Linked DNA regions of Homo sapiens: all the other regions are linked to region 3. The links are contacts of gene promoters, found by promoter capture Hi-C in blood cells and fetal thymus (Javierre and others, 2016). All regions are on one chromosome and are shown on one strand. Each heading gives the region's core, a stretch centred on a gene start or on the middle of the fragment in contact. The rest is flanking DNA. Distances are from core to core; before and after follow the strand shown. Region 1 overlaps REXO5 (RNA exonuclease 5). Region 2 overlaps REXO5 (RNA exonuclease 5). Region 3 holds the start of LDAF1 (lipid droplet assembly factor 1). Region 4 overlaps ACSM3 (acyl-CoA synthetase medium chain family member 3).

Region 1 (3,062 bases), core at 376-2,875, 320 kb after region 3:
TACCCAACAGGCTTTTCATAATATTTATTATGCATCACTAAAGTCATCACTGCAAGTCACGGGCAGAGATTCCCATTTGTCTTTTGGCTTAACTTTATAAGCTTGGGAAGGATAAGTTCTTCCACTGGATAGGCTACATCTTCAAATGGTCTGCTTTTCTGTTTGTTAACTCGGAGTAACTAAATCTTTGTGATTATCTGAGCCATAGCATCAATATGGAGATAAAAGCCTTCCCATAGAAAAGTTTCATGACACTGGATTTGGCAATGGTTTCTTGAATATGACATCAAAGGCAGGCAACAAAATTAAAAATAGACAAATTAGACTTCATAAAAATTAAAACCTTTTGTATATCAAAGGACACTAACAGCAGTGTCAAAAAGCAACCCACAGAATGGAGAAATAGTTGCAATCACATAGCTAATAAAAGATTAATATCCAGAATGTACAGAGAAATCCTACAATTCAACAATAAAAAAGCCAAACAACCTGATTTAAAAATGGGCAAACACTGCAGAGTAGCTGGAACTGAAAAAAATAAATAAGAAAAAAAGGGCAAACAAGTGAATAGACTTTGCTGTAAAAGATGTACAAATTGCCTGCGACACTCAACATCACTAATCATTAGGGAAACGCAAATCAAACCCAAATGAGATACCATTTCACATCCATTAGGATGGCTACTATTAAATAAAATAGAAAACAAGTGTCAGTGAAGATGTAGATAAGTTGGAACCTTTGTTCTTTGCTGGTAGGAATGTAAAATGGTATAGCCACTGTGGAAAACAGTATAATGGTTCCTCAAAAAATTAAACATAGAATTACTATTTGATCCATCAATTCCACTTCTGGGTATACACCCAGAAGAACTGAAAGCAGGGACTTGAACAGATATGTGTACAACCATGTTCATAGCAGCATTATTCATGATAGTCAAAGGTAGAAACAACCCAGGGTCAGGCACAGTGGCTCACGCCTGTAATCCAAGAACTTTGGGAGGCCAAGGTGGGTGGATCTCTTGAGTCCAGGAGTTCAAGATCAGCCTGGGCAACATAGAGAGACCCTGTCTTACAAAAAATTAGCCAGGCGTGCATGCCTGTGGTCCCAGCAGGAGGCTGAGGTGGGAGGATTGCTCGAGCCCAGGAGGTTGAGGCTGTAGTTAGTTGTGATCACGCCACTGAACTCCAGCCTGGGTGAGCAAGACCCTATCTCAAAAAAAAAAAAAACAAACAAAACAAAGGGTAGAAACAAGAAACAACCCAAATGTCCATCAACAAATGGATAAACAAAATGTGGTATATACATGAAATGGAATATTATTTTGCCTTGAAAATGAAATTCTAATACATGCTACAACATGAATGAACCTTGAAGACATGCTAAATGAAATAAACCAGACACAAAAGGACAAATATTGTATGATTCCACTTATGTGAGGTACGTACACAGAGTAGTCAAATTCATAAAGACAGAAAGTAAAACAATGATTACCAGGGGCTGGGGGGAGGGGTAATAGGAAATTATTGCTTAATAGGAAATTTCAGTTCGGGATGATGAAAAAGTTCTAGAGATGGATGGTGATGATAGCTGCACAATATCAACATACTGAATGCCACTTAAAAATGGTTAAAAAGGTACATTTTATTTTATATGTATTTTACCCGCCACCCCCGCAACCAAAAAAAGGGGCCAAGAGAAAGGAAGATGTTATAGTCCCTTGCTATACACTTCTCATCCCCCAATCCATCTTCTCAGGGACAATCTTTGTATTTTTATTTTTAGTCATAGAAAAGCCATTAATAAAAGATTTGGAAGCTGGGTGCAGTGGCTCATGCCTGTAATCCCAGCACTTTGGGAGGTGGATCACTTGAGGTCAGGAGTTCGCGACCAGCCTGGCCAATATGGTGAAACCCAGTCTCTACTAAAAATACAAAAATTAGCCAGGCGTGGGGGCACATACCTGTCGTCTCAGCTACTTGGGAGGCTGAGGCATGAGAAATCATTTGAACTGGGGAGGCAGAGGCTGTGGTGAGCCAAGATGGCACCACTGCACTGCAGCCTGGGCCTCTGTCTCAAAAATAAAAATAAAATAAAAATTAAATTAAAAAATTTAGAGACAGCCATTTTAAAATATCTAGGATCCTGCACTTAGATCACTTTAGAAGTGTTTTTACTTCACTTTCATACATTGTAATACACCAGTTTAATAGTTACCTAGTTCCGAATTCTAAAGGAACAATATATTTACAGTGAAGTCTTCCCCTAATCCCATTAGCTAGCTGCCTAATTCTTCCCCCTAGAGGCCTCCATTGTTACCTTTATTGTATATCATTCTACAAACATCCTACATTACACTGTTTCCATTTTTCTTTTCATGATTTCTTCCATGTCTCTATATGCTTATGATGTTATTGCTTCACATATAAACTTTATCTATTGATATGGTATTGTTATGACTGTGAAGATGGAGACATAACTTGTGAAGTCCTTTTGAACTACATAAATTTTTAAAACCATATGCAAGTATTATTTTTGTTAAAGTAAAACTAATCTCTTTAAAGGGCTTTTATGTAAATACAAACCTACAATACCAAAAACTTACCCTAAGAGATAAGAGATAACAATAACAACAAAAGCCCTCCCATAATCTTCCTCCTGTATCTTAACCAAGCAAGCCATGAGCCTACTCTGTAATGTAAAAAAAGAAGTAACTTTCTAAGATATGAAAGTTACTTCTCTTTTTGAAAGAGTATTTTATCATTTAAAGCTGAGGTACAATCATAAGGACCACAGGTTATATTCAACCAGCAGACATATTTTTTCGTATGGCCTGGTATTTGAGAAATGGGAGCCAACATATGAAAACTGACAGATTTCTTAATTCTTGTTTTTAAATTGTTTGTAGCAATGTGGTCTCACATTGCTTGAGCCCAGGCTGGTCTTGAACTCCTGGGCTCAAGCAATCCTCCCTCCTCAAACTCCCAAAGTGCTGGGATTACAGGTATAGGCCACTGCGCCCAGCCAGATTTCTCAATTCTTTAAACACACACAACAAAAGATCT
Region 2 (2,817 bases), core at 110-2,609, 330 kb after region 3:
GCTCTAGCTGTTTGGCAGTTGTAGATAATGATTATAATTGGGAGATTCTGGAACAAGGAAGATAATATTCTGCTGACTTAAGGTCACAAGAAGATTGAAGATCAAGAAGGGCAAGAGCATTATACACTGACATTGTGCAATTTCAGCATTAAAATATACCTATGTGATGCCCTAACCTTTGATAATATTTAAGTAGATAAAACCTAACTAAACTGAAGCTGTGGGCCATTCTTAAGTATTATTCCATTCTAGCCCGATAGCTCTTAGAAGAGCTGCAGGCAAGGTGAAAAATACCTGGTGAGGTAGTCCAGAATCTTGTTTTCAGGTTTGACCAGTTCATCCATAACACAGCAGCCTCCTTCAGCAACCAGTGAGATGCGTGTTAGCTCTCTCCCCTTGGATGTGAGGCACTGAAAGACCAACATGTAGTCAGGCTGCTGAACTGTGGAAGTTATTGCTTCTTCTTACTATTTACACTATGTCAACTGCCATCTACTGTAATCTACCAGGGTCCCTGCAGCAATGGCACAAACTTGCTTTCTAGAGGATCTAGTGTGAGTGAAATTAAAGCTGGGCAGGCTGCTGAATGTTACACTTAAGAGGATCAACACAGTGTAGTCTGCACAAAGAAGATGAATGCAAATAATATTAATAATTGTATCTACCATTTATGGAGTGTGTACTATATCCAGTATTATGCTAAATACCACTAATAGGTAATTTTTATGAAGCCCATTCTATTATCAGCTAGTGCTGTACTAAGAATTTTATATATGCCACTCTCATAATTACCTTTTGAGGTAGGCTTTATTATTACCCCCACTTCACAGAGGGAGAAGCCGAGGCTGATAGGTTAGGGGTATTTGTCTAAGGCGACATAGCCACTAACAGGCAAGGACAGGATATACACCCTGATATGTCAGATTCTCAAATTTTAGGTCTTAGTTACTCTATTAAGAATTGAGAAACTGTTTCCTGAGTACTGAGAGGGGATGCACTGTCTTTGAAAAGAGGCTTACTACAATTAGATAAAGCAAAGCACGAGGGGAACTTAAGCAGGGAAATCCTATTTCTGATCTTCAAGGTGTAAAACTAAGCCAAACCAACAATTAAGGCAAAGTCCTCATGGCAGCAACAACAAAATACTTCTTCAAACACAAGGAATCAACTTCTAGCAACATGCAAAGACCTGATTAAACATAGTAACTAGTTGGAAAACGTGATTTTTTTTTTTTGAGATCGAGTCTCACTCTGTCGCCAGGCTGGAGTGCAGTGGCGCTATCTCAGCTCACTGCAACCTCTGCCTACTGGGTTCAAGCGATTCTCCTGCCTCAGCCTCCCGAGTACCTGGGACTACAGGTGCATGCTGCCATGCCCAGCTAATTTTTTGTATTTTTAGTAGAGATGGGGTTTCACCATGTTGGCCAGGATGGTCTTGATCTCCTGACCTCATGATCCACCCGCCTCAGCCTCCCAAAGTGCTGGGATTACAGGTGTGAGCCACGGCACCCAGCCACTTATGTGATATTTATTCTTTATCCTGGAATACAGATCTAAGTTTTCTAAAGTGTGAGTAAAAGGACCTACTTTCAGCTATTAAAACAGAATACTAAAAATGAATGTATTCGTTCATTAGTGCATTAGACTCAAGAAATCATTTTCTACTAGACCTCAGCTTGCAACACTCCAATTGAAAAATTAAAAGTAGTACGTGCCATTTCACAGTCAAGTCCAAAGAGAGGACTATTGTCTGCTATAGAACCATTACATTTGGTAAGTAAAAAGTTTTCACAATCAGGAAAACCTAGGAGAAAAAGGAAGAAAATGTTTGCCTTTAGAATAGAGATGGTAAACATCACTCTTAGATTCAAGCAGGTAAAACTACAATACTAGATATTTTAGTCAGATATGTTGGTATGTTAGACACTTGAAATACAATGACTAAATAAGATACAATCTCTGTCCTCAAGTTTTTCTCCATCTACTCATTTTTATATTGAAAGAATAATGTAGGCTTGCTGTTAGGAGGAGATTCTGGGGCTTGAACTTCCTGGCAGTTACCAAGTAACAATTTTTCCTCCTCATGAGAAAAGAGATAACTAAATCATGGCTAAACCCAAAGTCATTAGGCGCTTTCCATGTCAGCACTAAGAAAGAATGAATAAAGTATGCAAATAACTGTATGTGGCATCTTTCTTTCCTAAATACAGGAAGAGAAAATAGGAATGAGATTCCACCATAATGGAGATCTAAAAGGATTTCATAGTAGGAAGAAAGTTTAAGTAACATTCACCATATGTGTCCCTCCACCCAACTCAACCTGTGAGATTCCTCTGAAACACCTATTCAGAGCCTTGCCTGCATTTTCTGGAATCACATATTTCCTACAGAGGCTCAGCTATAGATTTAAGGTACTCCCTCTATTTGTGAACCCTGAGTCCATAACCATGCATATTTAGCTCAAAAACCCAAAAGCATCTGAATTGTTGAAGATTTCTACCTTCAGGCAGAGGCTGGAGCAGTAAAGGTAACATCTAAATCTTGTTTGACACGGAACAAAGGGGGCTATGCAAACCTTTGACCAATTTCTGATTCCCGGTACTGTGAAATTTCCAACTAATCGCAATGAAAAGAATCAAAAGATGGTCTATCCCAGAGAAGAAAGGCAGCCTCAAATCTCACAGACACTATATTTGCTGCCTACCTTATCTATATTATCAGTGGTGTTTTATAGGTGTTAGCAGTACTGCCCTTACTACGTGCTCATGTGACAGTAGTGCAACCTCAAGAAAAAGATGGTTATAAATATGTTAAAAT
Region 3 (2,835 bases), core at 57-2,556:
GAAAGTTGAGGAGGGGACTAATCCCACCACCCCACATTCTCTCTTTGAAGCTGCCTCTGGCGTAGGTCTTGAACTTGGGATGTTCCCAGCACTCAGTTCCCATAATCTCATCTCTGCAGCAAGCAGAAACAAGCGGAGTTCCCCTTACAGGTCTCCTTTGGCCTGGGAGCCTCAAGTGCCACCCAGACCGGTTTGGGGAGTCCGATGAGAGAGTGCGTGGGGCGAATGCCATCGGCCACAGCCTTCAAATGCGTCTACCTGGCCACCAATTCCCAGACCCCCTGGTCACTCACTCCTCGGAGGGGCCTCCCCAGGCACGGAGCTGTCTCCCGAGAAGGGAAAGCGAGAACCCGGCGCGGCCAAGGAGTGCCCCGCCTTCTTCACGCCTGGGGGACTGGGCCAGGCCAACACCAGCTAACCCTTTCCCCTTCCAAGGCTCCAAATAAATCTCCTGGCCCTCCCACCCCCGAACCTCCAGGGGAAAACGGCTACCTCGAAAGTTCAAGCTGGGAGGAGGGGTCACATCTCTGGTTGGGGGATGGGAGCTACAGGGCGCCTCGAGCTCACACTGGCCGCCCCTCCCCATCCGGGCCCAGCCTTTCAGCGTTCAAAAGCCAGGGAGACCCAAGGAGAGGAGGAAGGGAGTGAAATGCAGGTGGAGAGGGGGTCCGCGTCCCAGAAGGCACAGAGACTGAATAATGGGAACTCAGAGGGGAGTCGAGTACTTAGTTATTAATTTGGGGGTAAAGAAGCCCCCTTTGATACTTGCAGATCTCTCTGCAGCGATGGGGAAGGGGACCTCGGTGGAGAAGAGGGGCTGGGTGGTGAGGAAGGCGCCCGTTTTCAATAATCCTAGGGAGGTTTGCCTCGACGTCTTCCCCAGGTTCCCCAGAAAGGGGCACAGTCTCGGGGTGTGGTGGTGCTAGCTACCATTTTACCTAATCTAGTGGTAGTGTGTGTGTGTATGTGTGTGTGTGTTGGGGGGTGGCGGGGTGAGTGTGCATTTAGGGGTGGGGAGGAATCGTGTCTCCTCGTGCGCTCCCAGCCCCGTCCCGGCGACTCATAAGCAGGAGACGCCCCTTACACTAACCCCGGGGCAGAAAGCTACGGGCGTGGGACCCCGATAGCGCGCTCACGCCGTCGCCCCCGCGCTCCTCCTCTGTCCCCGCCCGGCGAGAGGGGTCTAGCCACCCGGGGCACCCGGACCCCCACCCCCAAGCTCCGAGCTCTCACCTGCTCCTGACCGCCGAGCAGCCCCCACCGCGTTTGCAGGCGAAGCGAAGAGAGGCAGGAGGAGGAACAAGAGGAAGAAGGAAAGAGCGTCCCGAGAGGGAGCCAGAGCCGCCTGCCTCCGCCCCCTGGCCCGGGCACCGCCCCTCGGCTCTTCTCCTCTGGGCTCGCCCCGCCCGTGGCCGGAAGGATCCGGCAAAGGCGCGCCAAGGCCCGGCGCCCAAGGCTTTGCAAAGCGCGCTCGCTCCCACTGGCTTTCGGAGCCACTAGAACAAGCCCTGAGAGGTTGACAGCTGAGGAAACTGAGGCTCAGAGAGTGTCCCTTCCCACACGACTGGCTTGGAGTGAGAAAGCTCAGACCACCTTCAAGACAGGCAGACTGGCAGCCGAGAATGAGTTTTCCAAGGGTGTCAGGGTTTCCCCTCCTGTATGCCTAAAACCAGCTGCTCTGGAACGTCTCTGGCGCTCAAGACACACACGTGATGAAGTATCACCCTGGCTGGAAGTTTTTAACCATGACTGCTCAAATGCGAATGTCATAAGCCAGTGAGATCCTTTCAGATGGATTGGATGTCCATTTTACACATGAAAAAGTCCAGGCTGAGAGAGACAAGATAAATCAATCCAAATTCCTCGGTTTGCATGGATCCAAGTCGGAGCAGGAGCCCCTGTTTCCCCTGGCCCCAAATCTGCCCTATAGAGTAAGGTTTCTGAATAGTATGCTATTGACATTTGGGGCGGAATAATTCTGTTTCTGAGCTGTGGATTGTAGAATGTTTAGCAATATCCTAGCCTCTACCCATTAGATGCCAGTTACAAGAACCGCCCCCCCCCACCTCCAGTTGTGTCTCAAAATATTGCCAAATGTCCCCTGGAAGGCCCCATCGTCCCGAGGTGAGAACCACTGCTATAGAGCATGATGGCAACTTACTGTGTGACTAAGTAACCTCTCTGAACCATGGCTTCAACCATAAATTAGAGAGAGGGATAAGCCCAACCATTGGTCTGCTGTTGCACAGTTCTCAGCCACTTTCCAGACAGGGACCTGTGTTGACCGACCTCTCCTCTTTGCCTGTGGCCATAGCAACCTGGAAAATAAGTCTTTAGATAACAAAAAGCTGGCAGGGTGCGGTGGCTCACACCTATAATCCCAGCACTTTGGGAGGCTGAGGTGGGCAGATCACTTGAGGCCAGGAGTTCCAGACCAGCCTGGCCAACATGGTGAAACCCCATCTCTACTAAAAATATAAAAACTAGCCAGGCATGGTGGTGCGCACCTGTAATCCCAGCTACTCGGGAGGCTGAGGCAGAAGTATCGCTTGAACCTGGGAAGTAGAAGTTGCAGTGAAGACACTGCACTCCAGCCTGGGCAACAGAGTGAGACCCTGTCTCAAAAAAAAAAAAAAAAAAAAAGAAGCAATCACAGGGTTGTAGTGAGGACTGGTGCAATAGTGTGGCTGTGGCTGTCGAGAACTTAGCACCTATTGAGGCACAGAGTAGGGGCTCAAAAATATTTGCTTGGGATGATGATTTATGATGATGATCACGACAATGATATGATAAACCACAGAATCCTGCTGTAATTCCACAATAGCAGAAAGAAGA
Region 4 (2,711 bases), core at 24-2,523, 370 kb after region 3:
ACCATTCAGTTGAAACCATCTTTCTCTCTAGATGCTGGGCAGCAACAGTAAGTCACAGCTCCCAGTCAGCCATGCATTTGTGACTTAGGATGTTTTCAACTTATGATGACTTATTATTTTGGGACATAACCCTATCATAAGTTGAGGAGTGTCCAAATTAGTGTTAAGTTCCTTTGGCTACACCCAGCTTTGAAGCTCGGTTGATCTGAGAACAATTTTAACCCTATATAAAGCTTGCTGATGGGGAACTGGAATTCCCCCTAGGCATCAGGTGGTAGTAGTGGCAGTGGATACAGAGAGGCTGGAAATGGCCAGGCAGGCTTGGGAGCAGAGAGGGAAAGTGCTGCAGCCACTGTAAACTGAAGCCTCTTCGGGCCTAGTTGACCCGCTCAGAAGGTCTTGACCTCCCTTGCCTGAGAGGACCAGTGTTGTGTTGTGGTTAAGAGTGCAGATATTGGAGCCAGACTGCTTGGGATTGAATCCCAACTCTAGCAGCTATTAGCTGTGTGACTTCTGGTGAGTTCTTTTACCTCTTTGTGCCTTGTTTGTAAAATGGTTCTAATATTAGTATGCTTCTCATAGGGTTTCTTCTGGAAATTCAATGGGTTAATATTTATTTATTTAGAGACAGGGTCTTGCTCTGTGGCCCAGGTTAGAGTGCAGTGGTGTGATCATGGCTCACTGCAGCCCCAAGCTCCCAGGCTCAAGCAATCCTCCCATCTCAGCCTTCTGAGTAGCTGGGACCACAGGCACGTACCACCATGCCTGGCTAGTTTTTTATATTTTTTTGTAGAGACAAAGTCTCACGTTGTTGCCCAGGCTGGTCTTGAACTCCTGGGCTCAAGTGATGCTCCCGCCTTGGCCTCCCAAAGTGTTGGGATTACAGGCGTGAGCCACTGCATCCAGCCTAATGGGTTAACGTTTATTAAATGCTTAGAACTGTATGGTACAATATGGGTATTTGCAAAATAATGGAGACCAAGAAGCTAACATTTCTAATCATTTTCACATATTTATAAAAATTAAAGTATCATGGAAGTAAAATGGAATCACCATCATAACAAAGAAAGTTTATATGGGGGTAAGCGGTAGGTAGGTAGTGTACAGATTGGGTTGTTAAACATTCTCCTGGAAGGGGATGTGCAAACCTTAACATCGAAAGCAGGAGAAGGTTTTCCCATTGAGCCAGGTTTAATTTTCATTCCCTTAAAATTTCCACAGATTAGCACCTAGTTAAGAAGAAGAAAAAGTAAGATAACATTACAAGTCACTTAAAATTTATTCATCTATCATGCATTCATTCAACAAATTATTTATTGAAAACTTACTATGAACTAGGCTCAAAATGAATGCTATACTCTCATGGAATGTAGTGATAACATATAAATACATGCATATGTATAAAATATAGTTATAACAATAATTACTCATATATCCATATTTATCAAAACATGAGTATATTAACATTTGCATTTATATTAGCATACTTGTTATGCTATTTCTAGTTAATGAATTTTTCAATTTTTGATTTTTATTTTTGATATTTTCATTTTTTACCAGGTGATACATTCTCATGGTTCATAAATTGAAGCATTATAAAGACACATTGTGAAAAGTTTTTTCAACTTTTCCCTTATCTATTTCATCTTACTCCTCCCTCTTCTACAAAATAACCACTGTTGTTCTTTTTTCTTATTTCATTTTTTGTTCTTATTTCATTTTTTGTTCTTATTTCATTCATTTCCTCTAGAATTTCTTATTCCTTATCTCTATGAGCTCTTTAAAAAATCCTTTTTAGAGTATGGTTGCTAAGGAGTTGTCCAGCAAACTCTTAATATTTCAGGCAGCAAGGATCTCAGCATTTTCCATTTTGAGGCAGCCCTAAATAAGATACTTCCCTATCACACTGGGAGGAATTCTTTCTTTCAGTAGATCCAGTATTATTTCATTTAAAAAAATATTGTAATGCCCTTACTCTGATCCATTAACAGTGGTGTTTGTCAATGAATGGCTATTTAAACAACTATCTGTTAACAGAGCTTTTTTGCAATTAGGTTCTTGCAAGCATTGTTTTTTTAAACATTTTCTAACCACTCAACTCCTATCCCTCAAATAATCATAAGGAGACTGTGGACACTTTGGTTTTTATTCATCTGACTAAATGGAATCCAGCTATGTCTTTTCAGTGAGGTCAGGTACCGTTTCAGTCTGTCCATATCCTTCGTAGATATCCAGGCCCGTCTTGTTTCTCCATTTTTCAGTCACGTCAGGGGTAATTGGTTCCCCAGCACTCACACAGTGCTTTAAGCTTTTAAACTTATAGCTTCTCAGAAAACCAGATAAGTTAGATTTAGGAGGAAAAATGGAGAGAAGTGAAGATTAAGGATTATTTCTTATGAACTTCAATATAAAATGTTTTAGTCGCTTTTTAATTCCTCTCCCTAGCACAAAACAAACCATTTTACCCCATAAACATATACAACTACTAAGTACCTACACAAATTAAAAATAAAGATATTAAAAAGATAAATCATTCTAATATCATAGAATGATACTAGAATACCCCAAATACTAGTTTTTCTTTACCCCCCTTTTTGTGGTGGAGGTATAATTTATTACAAAGAAGGTCATTCTGTTCTTAGGGAAGGTACCCCATAATAACATTTTATTTTATTTTGTTTTTATTTTTATGTTTTCATGGAATGCTTCAA

What was found. Contacts are between HindIII fragments. The CHiCAGO score rates a contact against its expected background, and 5 or more counts as called.
Region 1: a contact is called between a fragment that was not itself captured here and the fragment with the promoter of LDAF1 in region 3, in 16 of 17 cell types (total CD8 T cells, naive CD4 T cells, naive CD8 T cells and 13 more). The highest score is 11.5, in total CD8 T cells.
Region 2: a contact is called between a fragment that was not itself captured here and the fragment with the promoter of LDAF1 in region 3, in 13 of 17 cell types (M1 macrophages, total CD4 T cells, megakaryocytes and 10 more). The highest score is 9.5, in M1 macrophages.
Region 4: a fragment that was not itself captured here is called in contact with the fragment with the promoter of LDAF1 in region 3 in 1 of 17 cell types (endothelial precursors); the score reaches 6.5 in endothelial precursors.

Annotation. Positions count from the first base shown.
Region 1 is chr16:20,840,647-20,843,708 of GRCh38, reverse strand. All of the region lies in intron 15 of REXO5 (RNA exonuclease 5), which reads right to left. Among named protein-coding and RNA genes, the nearest start is that of REXO5, 36 kb to the right of the region's middle. The HindIII fragment of the contact is 3,043 bases long and covers 104-3,062 here.
Region 2 is chr16:20,823,426-20,826,242 of GRCh38, reverse strand. REXO5 (RNA exonuclease 5) reads right to left here. Exons shown (of 20, transcript NM_030941.3): 7 at 1,716-1,804; 8 at 295-410. Among named protein-coding and RNA genes, the nearest start is that of REXO5, 18 kb to the right of the region's middle. The HindIII fragment of the contact is 4,344 bases long and covers 1-2,817 here.
Region 3 is chr16:21,157,145-21,159,979 of GRCh38, reverse strand. It overlaps LDAF1 (lipid droplet assembly factor 1), which reads right to left and starts at 1,306. Exons shown (of 5, transcript NM_001301771.2): 1 at 1,234-1,306. It also overlaps a transcript of DNAH3 not described here. RefSeq lists enhancers at 25-174, 309-809 and silencers at 1,067-1,246, 1,297-1,426. The HindIII fragment of the contact is 5,830 bases long and covers 1-2,835 here.
Region 4 is chr16:20,784,596-20,787,306 of GRCh38, reverse strand. It overlaps ACSM3 (acyl-CoA synthetase medium chain family member 3), which reads right to left. Exons shown (of 14, transcript NM_005622.4): 8 at 2,200-2,323; 9 at 1,149-1,229. It also overlaps a transcript of ERI2 not described here and the pseudogene RNU6-944P. Among named protein-coding and RNA genes, the nearest start is that of ERI2, 21 kb to the left of the region's middle. The HindIII fragment of the contact is 2,075 bases long and covers 236-2,310 here.